Regions from separate parts of the Homo sapiens genome. Here region 1 is linked to region 2. The links are contacts of gene promoters, found by promoter capture Hi-C in blood cells and fetal thymus (Javierre and others, 2016). All regions are on one chromosome and are shown on one strand. The core of a region is centred on a gene start or on the middle of the fragment in contact, and the rest is flanking DNA. Distances in the headings are between cores, read along the strand shown. Region 1 overlaps CTNNBIP1 (catenin beta interacting protein 1). Region 2 holds the start of UBE4B (ubiquitination factor E4B).

What was found. The method cuts DNA at HindIII sites, captures the fragments that hold promoters and counts their contacts. A CHiCAGO score of 5 or more calls a contact.
Region 1: a fragment that was not itself captured here is called in contact with the fragment with the promoter of UBE4B in region 2 in 5 of 17 cell types (M2 macrophages, naive B cells, endothelial precursors and 2 more); the score reaches 6.2 in M2 macrophages.

What each region holds. Positions count from the first base shown.
Region 1 is chr1:9,886,239-9,892,480 of GRCh38, forward strand. All of the region lies in intron 1 of CTNNBIP1 (catenin beta interacting protein 1), which reads right to left. Among named protein-coding and RNA genes, the nearest start is that of CTNNBIP1, 21 kb to the right of the region's middle. RefSeq lists an enhancer at 555-1,143. The HindIII fragment of the contact is 670 bases long and covers 4,509-5,178 here.
Region 2 is chr1:10,031,149-10,036,808 of GRCh38, forward strand. It overlaps UBE4B (ubiquitination factor E4B), which reads left to right and starts at 1,810. Exons shown (of 28, transcript NM_001105562.3): 1 at 1,810-2,546. The coding sequence starts at 2,523. RefSeq lists silencers at 1,428-1,817, 1,848-2,067 and enhancers at 1,582-2,236, 2,628-2,677. The HindIII fragment of the contact is 8,691 bases long and covers 1-2,996 here.

The DNA of each region.
Region 1 (6,242 bases), core at 3,594-6,093, 140 kb before region 2:
TCACTGGGAACACTTCTCAGCAGGGTGCCGCTGACATTTCAGACTGGGTGCGTTTCTGCTGGAGGGCTGTCTGCACATTGCAGAAGCTGAGAGGCATTCCTGGCCTCCACCCACTAGATGCCAGTAGCAGCCCCCCTCCAGTTGTGACAATCGAATCGAATATATCTTCTGACGTTGCCATGTGTCCCGTAGGGGACAAAATTGCCAGGTCGAGAGCACTGCTTTAAAGAAGCAGCTGACACGTACTCTGGCTTACTCTGTGCCTTGCACCATTGGCAACTCTCAGGTAAGTGAATCATTCAGTCTTCGCCACACACGTCCCTACAGGGCTTTACAAATGGGCATGCCATGGTGCACAGAGGTGACATAACTCACCTGTCATGGCCCAGCTAGTCCACATCGGAGCAGGATGGAACCCAGATTGTTCAAGGTCTCAACCGCTCTGCCCTGTTGCTCTCCAGTATACAAGTACCTGGGTAAAAAGTCACTCTGAGCCAGCGAGGGGGACGGGGGGCAGAGGCCTGCCGCAGCTCCTGCTAGAGTCCCACACAAGGTAGCACCTCAGGTCCTCTAGCGACATCAAAAAAGGGAGTGCCAGAGGGAATTTCCACACGCTCCACTCTCAGTAATTAAACTGCAACAACCTCCCAGACTCTCAGGCCTCAGGAGCAACCGCCTTAATTAATATATTCCACGTTGCAGCCTCCTCCATCCACAGCCACGCTCGGTATTCCCGAACCGCACTCCACCAGCAGAGCTAGGACAAAACAGGCCTCCTAGTGAGGCATGGCATTTGCAGGCCACAGCCCCATTCTTAGGGGATAAGCCTGGGATGGGGAATGTGTCTTGAGGTCACCAACCCCAATTCAAACCTGATGCAAAGCTCCTTCCTGCTCCCTGAAGCCAGGTGATGCTACCGAAGAATAATTACTGTTGTCACCACAGCATTTTCTAAGTCCAGGCACAGAGTGGCAGAGTCAGTCAGCCCTCACAAGCCTGCAAGGTAGGAATTATTCCCATTTTATGGATGACAAAACTGAGGCTCAGAGAAGGTAAGTAACCTGCCTGAGGCCATGGAGTAATAAGTGGTAAGCCTGGATCCAAGGCCATGCTTTCCCTCTCTCCTAACAGCCCCTTCTGGCTCAGGAGTTGACAGACGCATTATCCATTTTAACTGAAATTAAAAGAAAAATGTGGGCCGGGCACAGTGGCTCACGCCTGTAACCCCAGCACTTTGGAAGGTGGAGGCGGGCAGATCAGGAGGTCAAGAGATCGCCAACATAGTAAAACCCTGTCTCTACTAAAATTACAAAAATTAGCTGGGCATGGTGGCACACGCCTGTAATCCCAGCTACTCGGGAGGCTGAGGCAAGAGAATTGCTTGAACCCAGGAGGCAGAGGTTGCAGTGAGCTGAGATCTCGCCACTGCACTCCAACCTGGCAAAAGAGCAAGATTCCGTCTCAAGAAAAAAAAAAGAAAAAGAAAAATCCACCTTACAGGAAAAAGAAAAACGGCTAGAGTCCAACCCACTGCCAATCAGAGATTAATTCGAAAATAAGGCTTACAATTATTATATACCAATAGAAATTAATTAATTATTTTTGAGATGGAGTCTCACACCGTCACCCAGGCTGGAGTGCAGTGGTGCGATCTCAGCTCACTGCAACCTCCGCCTCCCGGGTTCAAGTGATTATCCTGCCTCAGCCTCCTAATAGCTGGGATTACAGGCACCCACCACCACACCCAGCTAATTTTTGTATTCTTAGTAAAGACGGGGTTTCACCATGTTGGCTAGGCTGGTCTTGAAATCCTAACCTCAAGTGATCCACCTGCCTCAGCCTCCCAAAGTGCTGGAATTACAGGCATGAGCCACCACACCCCGCTAATTAATTTTTAAAAAGAAAATATGGTCTGGGCACAGTGGCTCATGCCTGTAATCCCAACGCTTTGGGAGGCTGAGGTGGGAGTATCACTTGAGGCCAGGAGTTTGAGCCTGGGCAACAAGGTGAAACCCCATCTCTACAAAAAATAAAAAAAAAAATTTAAAAGCTGGGCATGGTGGCCGGGCGCGGTGGCTCATGCCTGTAATCCCAGCACTTTGGGAGGCTGAGGTGCGCGGATCACCTGAGGTCAGGAGTTCAAGACCAGCCTGGCAAACATGGTGAAACCCCGTCTCTACTAAAAAATACCAAAAATTAGCTGGGTGTGAGGCTGAGGCAGGAGAATCGCTTGAGCCCAGGAGGCAGAGACTGCAGTGAGCCGAGATCGCGCCACTGCACTCCAGCCTGGGTGACAGAGCAAGACTGCCTCAAAAAAAAAAAAAATTAAGAAATGGTAATGTAAGGCGATGGGGAGAGGCCCTGCATCTGTCTACACACAGTGCCATCTGCATCGCATCCCAGACCACCCCATGTTAGCCACAGCTAGCCCTCCTCCAGTGGGGGCAGCCATGAAGCCCAAATGCAGGAGGACCCTTTCCTCTCTGGCTACAGGTCTGCTGCCGTGGGAGTGATTCTGGAATTCTCAACAGTTTGCCCTATGCACACTCCGAGATCAGAGTAGCCCGCCTGTCCCCTTCACAGCAGTGCCGTGCACGCTGTTCCAGGTCCAGAGCTCTCTGATGAAGGCCCTTTCGGAAGGTTCTGGGAGCATTTAAATCAAATCCACCTGACCTCATTCAATACAGCCCCGCAATGGCCAGAATGCAATGCTGCACCCAGCTGAGCCGCCTACCTACTGCAGGAAAGGTACTGACACGGCAACCAGGCTGGGAGGGAGGCGCCTGGAACCACTGGGGCATCCTCCTTTCTATGAAGGGGCTCCTGTTCAGAGCAAGCTCTGCAGGCCACCAGCAGGCATGCCACACACACCAAAGTGCTCCAGCACAGGCACAAACCTGCCTGGAGACAGCTTCCCCAGGACCTGCACGCTGGACAGGAAGCAAAAAGAAAGGGCTCCTTCTGTCCCTCCCACGCACTGAGGCAGGCGGTCAGATCCAAGCTTACCCTCATATTCCCTCTACAGCCGTGGCTCTCAATGGGGGCGATTCTGCCCCACGGCAGAAATGTGGCAATATCTAGAGACATTTTTGATTGTCACGACTAGTAGGGTCCTGCTGGGTAGAGGCCAGGATCAGTGCCCACCACCAATAATTATCCAGCCCCACGTCTGGAGAGCTGAGTGAGAAGCCCTACTAGGGGGCCATCTCGGAGCTGCCGATTGCACCAGGCTCCCTCCACATCTCTGGGCCTCTGCATCTGCTATGCTTTCCACCTAGAACTTCCTTCCCTCCCTGATTCCTGAGACCAAGCCTCACAGATGTTCTCTGCTCTACAACACCTTCTCTGGGCTGCCTCGAGGCCTGTGTCTGCACATCCGCCTGCATTTCCTCTTCTCGCATCACCGCCCCAACACTGTACCTGGATATCTGAGAAATGTTCACCACCAGACTGGAAGCTCTTTGAGGACAGACCGGGGGTGGTTTTAAGGCCTTTATAGGCCCCAGGGAACCTTATTCTCAGAGACATACTAAAACAAACCCACATCTCTTATTAAATGTAATCCTCACGTAACTCACAAGAGTAGAGGGAGTGATATATTTTTTTCCCACATGGCCAATATTTTTGTGGACCCTAGAAAAACTTGTAAGGCTCTGTGCTGAAGAATCTGGACAGGTGAGACACCACTGCTAGCCACAACTGGGGCTCCTCGAGTGGTGAAGTGAATGGGAACCATGAAGGAAGTGCCCCCCAGCCTTTGCATGGCCTCACTTCAGATAATCCTAACACACCAAGGAGCTGGAGGAACCTGCATGTTCCTATAACTGGATTGGCATGAGGCATCTGTTTACATCTTCTGGTTTAAAATATTTATCCTTGTGATTCTGGCCCAGATCTCGTTGTCTCTCCAGTCCTGAATTGAGTGAAACCCACCTTTTTACAGAGGCAAGAGTACCTGGCAGGCCTGCTCTGACAGCCTCTTGAAATTCAGCTGAAAACAATGCAAACAGGAAGGCATGTGGAGCCTGAGGAAGTTTCCTTGGCTGCCCCAGAACACTGAAGATCCTGGGCTATGTCTTCAGGCTCTACTGTTCTAACCAAGGGGACGTGCTGGTGGAGGTTTTCTCTCTGCACAGTGGGGGGACAAGGACAGAAGAAAAGAAAGGCATCTTTCGGCTTAATTTTAAAAGAGGTTCTTTTTTCTTCCCAGAGAACAGCTGGAGCCCTGGAACCTGGCCAAGTCAGAGCCTGAGACCTGAAGTCAGGAACCAGCACGCCTACAAAATCCAGCCACGGATCTTCCTTTAATTCAGTCTGACTCATTACCTTCAGCCTCTGGCAGGTTCCAGAGGGGTTACTAATGCAGAATCCAGAGCCTTCTTCTATTTATAAGCCAATGGAAGGGCTGGAATCCTAGCTCTTGCATGGGTACAAGCGCCCCCTCACTCCTGGGTATGAGGCCTCCCAGGCCTGACCGACCTTCCCCATGGGCTGTGCACCTGGCAGGAAGCTTCCTGAGCAAAGGCATCAAAAGATCCTCTGTGTCAACTGGAGGTAGAGGAACGCTTTTTCTCTCCTGGGACACCAGAGAGATCCCCAGCAAGCTGACTAAGTCCCCAAAAGGCAAATTAATTTGCATTTCTGTCAGGAAGGGACCACTTCCAGACCTAGTAATTCCAGGGATGGAGCCTGGCCCAGAGGTTCTGGAGAGCATGGGTCACCTCCAGAGAGTGCGGGTCACCTCCAGAGAGTGCGATCAGACTGGAAATTTTGACCTATGGAAGCTCCATCAATCCCGCTGTCAAAAGCTATGCCAGCTCTTTGCAGGGTCACAGCTTAAAATTTTAATTACATTAGGAAATTTAAAAGTACTTCAAGAAGAAAGGGGGAAAACTGACACAGTGCTATTTTTGGCGGGGGTGGGGGGCACTCACGTTTCTCCACAAGGTACATAAGGTCCCTTCACTCTGAACCACACTGACATGTTCACGCCACCCCATTCCCACAAGGACAAGCCTCATCCTCAGAGGCAGGCCTGGGCATGGCCCGGCCCTCCCATTGCCTGAGGGTCACCCAGATCTTCTCAACAGGCACCTCTCTCTCCAGCTCTTCTCCCCTTGCCCCATTCCCTCCATAGCTTTCCCTCATTAAAGCCTCTATAATTGGTTCAAACAAACAAGCTTCCTGAACTGAGTTTGCTGCATCCCCTCAGAATCCCAGGGCTGGGAAAGCCTCCAGCTTCCTGTGGTGAGGATTAGGTCATTAAATCAATTGGATCGGCTGCAGGACTGTGCCCCCGGAAGCAGCCCCCTCCTCACCACCCGGCTCTGGGGATGGTCATCCTCAGGACCTGGCTGAGAGACCCCAGGTGCAGCCTCCTGGGGAAACGCTTCCCAATCAAACTCTTCGGAAAATAAGTTTTGTTGGGCACAGTGGCAAATGCCTGTAATCCCAGCACTTTGGGAGACTGAGGTAGGAGAATTGCTTGAGGCCTGGACTTCAAAACCAGCCTGGGCAATAAAGTAAGACCCCATCTCTTTAAATTTTTTTTTTTTTTTTTTTTTTTTTTTTTGGAGATGGGGTCTCGCTCTTTCCCTCTGTCGCCCAGGCTGGAGTGCAGTGGCGCAATCTCGTTTCACTGCAACCTCTGCCTTCCAGTCTCAGGTGATTCTCCTGCCTCGGCCTCCCGAGTAGTTGGGACTACAGGTGCGTGCCACCATGTCCAGCTAATTTTATTTTGTATTTTTAGTAGGGACAGGGTTTTGCCATGTTGGCCAGGCTGGTCTCAAAATCCTGACCTCATGTGATCTGCCTACCTCAGCCTCCCAAAGTGCTGGCATTATAGACATGAGCCACCGAGCCTGGCTTCTACAAAAAATCTTTAAAAGATTAGCTGGGTGCAGCCTGGGCGCGGTGGCTCACGCCTCTAATCCCAGCACTTTGGGAAGCTGAGGCGGGCGGATCATGAGGTCAGGAGATCAAGACCATCCTGGCTAACACGGTGAAACCCCGTCTCTACTAAAAATACAAAAAATTAGCCAGGCGTGGTGGTGGGTGCCTGTGGTCCCAGCTACTCGGGAGGCTGAGGCAGGAGAATGGCGTGAACCCGGGAGGCAGAGCTTGGAGTGAGCCGAGATCGCGCCACTGCATTCCAGCCTGGGGGACAGAGCGAGACTCCGTCTAAAAAAAAAAAAAAAAAAAGATTAGCTGGGTGTGCAGTGGCTTGCACCTGTAGGCCCAGT
Region 2 (5,660 bases), core at 560-3,059:
GGCACGATCTCGGCTCCTTGCAACTTCTGCCTCCCGGGTTCAAGCAATTCTTTGCCTCAGACTCCCAAGTAGCTGGGATTACAGGTGCCCGCCACCACGCCCTTCTAATTTTTGTATTTTGTATTTCACCATCTTGGCCAGGCTGGTCTTAAACTCCGGACCTCTTGATCCACCCGCCTTGGCCTCCCAAAGGGCTGGGATTACAGGCGTGAGCCACTGCGCCCAGCCCGGGAGTGACTGTTAATGGCTTTGAGGGTTTCTTTTTGGGATGATGAAAATGTTCTGAAATTGGACAGTGAGGATGACTGAACTGTGAACATAATAAAACCACTGTACACCTTAATTGGGTGAATTGTATGGTATGTAAATTAGATGGCAATAATGAGGTTAAAAAAAGTAAACTTTTAACATCAATGTCACCAGGGGTTCAAGTTCTGGCTTACACAGAATTCCTTTCCTGGAGAGCAGATAATATGCAAAGCCAGCAGTGATTTATTTTTACTCACAAATTCCTTACATATTTTTACTCACAAATTCCTTACATATCTAGTAGTCAGGTTCCTATTTTAAGCATGTAGCAAATACATTGTAACTCTTAATTCTGGAATGCAGTCTTTATGGCTTAGTGAGCCATCCAATCCACTTATAGTCTTCGTCAGCGGCAAAATCTGGAATTTCATGGTACTGTTACTTTGATCGCTCAACTTAGATTTATATTTTATAAATATATATATACATACATATATATATATTTTTTGAGATGGAGTCGCGCTCTGTCGCCCAGGCTGGAGTGCAGTGGCGCGATCTCGGCTCACTGCAAGCTCCGCCTCCCGGGTTCACGCCATTCTCCTGCCTCAGCCTCCCGAGTAGCCGGGACTACAGGCGCCCGCCGCCACATCTGGCTGATTTTTTGTATTTTTTAGTAGAGACGGGGTTTCACCGTGTTAGCCAGGATGGTCTCGATCTCCTGACCTCGTGATCCGCCCGCCTCGGCCTCCCAAAGTGCTGGGATTACAGGCGTGAGCCACCGCGCCCGGCCAAATATTTGTATTCTTGTGCACCGGAGGATGGTTTTCCCCCACTGACTCCAAACGTCTTCCTTGCATTTGCTGTGTACAATTCAGTGATTTGGGTCTCTCATCCATTTATACTTTCAAATTTTACCAATACTTTTTGAACACACTTAAAAAAAAAAAAACCCAGGAAGTATCTCTAAAAGGCCAAGGTAAAATAAAATGAATGGGAGTTCTTGTGTTCGAGTTTTCTTCCAACTGGGCTTTCCTGGAGGAGGTGGAAGAGTGTGTGGCAGATGTTTCAGAAAATGAGCGCTCAATACGGTAGATCACGCTCCCGGGGTCAAGGAGACGTTTTCCGTTTTCTTTTCCCTCGCTTAGGCGGCGGGCGCGCACAGTCCAGTGGGAGCGATGAGGTGTTTCTAGGCCCCCAAGTCACAGAAAAGCAGGCGATTGGGAACAACGGAGGCGCGGCGGGCCCCCGGGCCGCGGGCCAGCGCCACCTTCTGGTGGATCTTCCCCGACGCGAGTCTGGGAGTCGTCCCTCCCCTTGCCAGCCTACCTGGCTCAGGCCCGCCGCGCCCGCAGCCCCAGCGCGGTCGCCGTGGCAACGCCCCGCCCAGCCGCCAGCCTCCCTTTGCCCCTCCCCACGTCCGGCGCGGCTGCGCGGGACGGGGTGGGACGGAGGCGGGGAGAGGACGCAGGCGAGAGGAACTCGGCGGCGCGGCGCCCGCGGCCTATTGGCTGCCACGTCCCGGCGCCAGAAGCCCCGCCTCCCTGACGGGGGTCACGTGATCCCTTTCAAAGATGGCCGCCCTGTTGTTTTGATGAATAATACTTGGTGGGGCGAGGGGGAAAGAGTAGGGGTGGAGGGGTAGGAGGATTTACTCTTCCAGCGAGAGCTACGCGCATCCCATCCTCCCCCTCCCCCCTACCCGGGCTCCGGCGTGGAGGCGGGGCGTGGCCGGCCTGCTTTGGGAGGGGAGGGGCTTCCCTTACAGTGCTGGGCTCTGCCAGGACGGCTGTGGGGTCGCCTTACCTCGGGGTATCCACTCTGCAGTCGACCAGTTCCCGCCAGGAGCAAAGGGTAGGAAGGAGAGCAGGATCTGCTGTAGGAACGCAGCTACCGCGCCACTATCACGAAGAAACAGCAGGCTCGGGGCACGAGACGAACTGGAGACCGCGCTGCCTAGCTGGGTAACCTGGGAAGCAGAGGGTAATAAGTGGCGCCTTAAGACAACCCTGTAGCAGCAGCAGTGGCGGCCAAAGGAGGCTGCTCAGGGAACAAGCGGCTGTAGTAGTCTGTGGGGCGACTGGAGTGACCGAAGCCAAGGCAGTTTAGTGCCTCTCGTGTTCTTATTTTTTAACCTCTGACTATGCAATTCTGAAACCTCCCCCATTCGGGGGACCAGACAGCCTGATAGACACCTTCCACTCTCCTTCCTCCCGCCGTGGTCTCGAGAACAGAAGGATCTCTCCTTAACGCCTTTCACCATTAAGAGGAAAGCGATGGAGGAGCTGAGCGCTGATGAGGTGAGGAGGTTGGGGGACACCTTGAGGGATTAGTTGGCAACTCGTTAGCGCTTTGGACAGGGATGGTATTGCGCCAGTGCTGTCTGGCCTTTGGGCTTGGAGAAGGAACGGAGATGATATTTTCCAAGAATAACGTGACTCCCCGATAGGGTCTCTGGTTTTGTTCTCCTTTATTCTGTTGCCTTCTTTCTTCATTCTGAACTCCATTTGCTTCTTTCCGAGTGTTCTTTTAGGGTATGAACAAGAGGAGAGAGCATCTTGAGGTGTTTATTCTTTTCTTCAGGGTATGCGAACAAGAAGGGCGAGATTTACATGAAGTTAAAGTGTGTGTGTGTCTGTGTCTTCAGGAATTTAAAGAACAATTTTGGATGGAATGAGAATGTATGGTGGGTGAATATTTTTAAAGAAAGCATTTGAAATTCCAGATATGTGTGGTTATTGCACTGTATAAGCTTGATTAAACATATATTTTTGCTTGAGGGGTGGTTTACAGACAGATTCTTTGATATTTAACAAAATATGTATCTTCTCCACAGTTTAGAGAATTCCAGTTATATTCTGGTACTTAATAGACCACTAATGACTTCTGGCATTCTTCTGTTACATTCTATCTTTTCCTACTTCTTGAATCTTTCAAACTTGTGTTTTGCTGTAGCAGAGACTGAACGGGAAGCAAGTGGAAGCAAATGACTTTCTAAACTCTCTCCTGTTCTCATTTCTTAAAGGAGTTATACAGATCTACTTCTTGATGTTTTAAAGATTGTTTAATAAATTAGGTTGTTGTAAAAAAAAAAACAACCAAAAAGCAGTGGCAATTAGGGTACAAGGAATTTCCTATGATTCTACTGCCTTTTCTCTTCCTTTTTGCAAATTAGGAGCTTCCCTTTCAGGACCCCTACTGGCCATACCCTCTTTAGCCTACCTCCACATTTCTTCACTGGTTCATCATGTAAACTTCCCTACAGTATTAGGAAAGCAGTCATCCATCAAGTTGATTGTACTACAAGACTTCCATGCTCCAGTTTTAGCTACAGAGTACTTAGTGTGTTTACTTAGGGACTGAAATTCTCCTGGGATAGGACACGCAGTGGTGTGTTAAGGGTCAGGTAGGAAAGGAAGCAAATGATTTTGTTGATTGTGATACTTGGATACTTGGTTTGGAAAATCAGGACTGCCCATTCGGCGTTACTTTGTTTTTTTCGAATACAGCAGAAATGTAATCTTAAGTGAAGAGAATATTACACAGTTTCTTTCATTCGGTAGGAAATCTCCTTAGAATCGCTTTATTTTATGTGGGTTTTTTTTTGTTTGTTTGTTTTTTTGAGACGGAGTCTTGCTCTGTCGCCCAGGCTGCAGTGCAGTGGCGCGATCTCGTCTCACTGCAAGCTCCGCCTCCCGGGTTCACACCATTCTCCTGCCTCAGCCCCCTGAGTAGCTGGGACTACAGGCGCCCGCTACCACGCCCGGCTATTTTTTGTATTTTTAGTAGAGATGGGGTTTCACCATGTTGGCCAGGATGGTCTCCATCTCTTGACCTCGTGATGCACCCGCCTCAGCCTCCCAAAGTGCTGGGATTACAGGCGTGAGCCACCGCGCCTGGCCTGTTTTATGTGGTTTTTTAAAAGTTTCTCTACCTCCCCCGTTTTTCATTAATGTTAATTCTAGTGAGTAATTTCTCTTAAGGCAGAGATACTGTTTTTTTTTTTTTTTTTTTTTTTTTGAGGCGGAGTCTCGCTCTGTCGCCCAGGCTGGAGTGCAGTGGCGCTATCTCAGCTCACTGCAAGCTCTGCCTCCCGGGTTCACGCCATTCTCCTGCCTCAGACTCCGGAGTAGCTGGGACTACAAGCGCCCGCCACCACTCCCGGCTAGTTTTTTGTATTTTTTTGTGTTTTTAGTAGAGACGGGGTTTCACTGTGTTAGCCAGGATGGTCTCGATTTCCTGACCTTGTGATCTGCCCGCCTCGGCCTCCCAAAGTGCTGGGATTACAGGCGTGAGCCACCGTGACCGGCCAGAGATAGTTTTTTTATTTTTTTTTATTTTTTATTTATTTTATTTTATTTTTTTTGAGACGGAGCCTCGCTCTGTTGCCCAGGCTAGAGTGCAGTGGCGCGATCTCAGCTCACTGCAAAGCTCCGCTTCCCGGGTTCACGCCATTCTCCTGCCTCAGCCTCCCGAGTAGCTGGGACTACAGGCGCCCGCCACCACGCCCGGCTAATTTTTTGTGTTTTTAGTAGAGACGGGGTTTCACCGTGTTAGCCCAGGATGGTCTCAATCTCCTGACCTCGTGATCCGCCCGCCTCGGCCTTCCAAAGTGCTGGGATTACAGGTGTGAGCCACCGCGCCCGGCCGAGGTAGTTTTTTAGTAGTCCTTTACTCCTATAAATTACTTTTTTTTTTTTTTTTTGATGATCTGTTAATAGTCCTTGGTTTAGAGGCTTTTGCATACTTGAGTTTTCACCAAAAAATTCTTTTCAAACCAGTGAGGCATTACAGACCAGTGAAGATATTGTATAATCTAAAATGTGTCTCTTCACTTTCATCAGTCCTTGAGGAAGGTGTAACTTTTTTTTGTGACCATATGAGGAACACATGTAACCTTTGTGGAAGAAATAGAATAAACTTTTTTCAAGGTCAACAGAATATTAAAATAAATGAAAAAAATTAAATTCACTAATACAGGATCAATGTAAAATTATCTTCAACAAATTAGTTGTCCAGAACACAAAGGGCTGGTTCAATAACTGTTAATTTTACTCTCAGCAGAACCTAGAACAAATAATATTCGTTTGTTTTTAATTTAAAAAATCTTTTTTTTTTTTGTAGAGACGGGGGTCTTGCCATGTTTCCCAGGATGGTCTCAAACTCCTGACCTCAAGCGATCCTCCCACTTCAGCCTCCCAAAGTGGGAGCCAGACAAATAGTTATTTTGGGAAAAATATCTTTGAAGTTTTTCTTTTTAATTCAATTAAAAATTTTTGAGGTTAGGTAAGCAGTTCTCATGAGACATTTCCAAAGCTTTTGCCTTTGTATTGTTACTCTGTAGTTGAAAACTTGTGTCAGATATGGTAGGTGACATTGATTTGATTACAAAATAATACACTTATATTATTGAA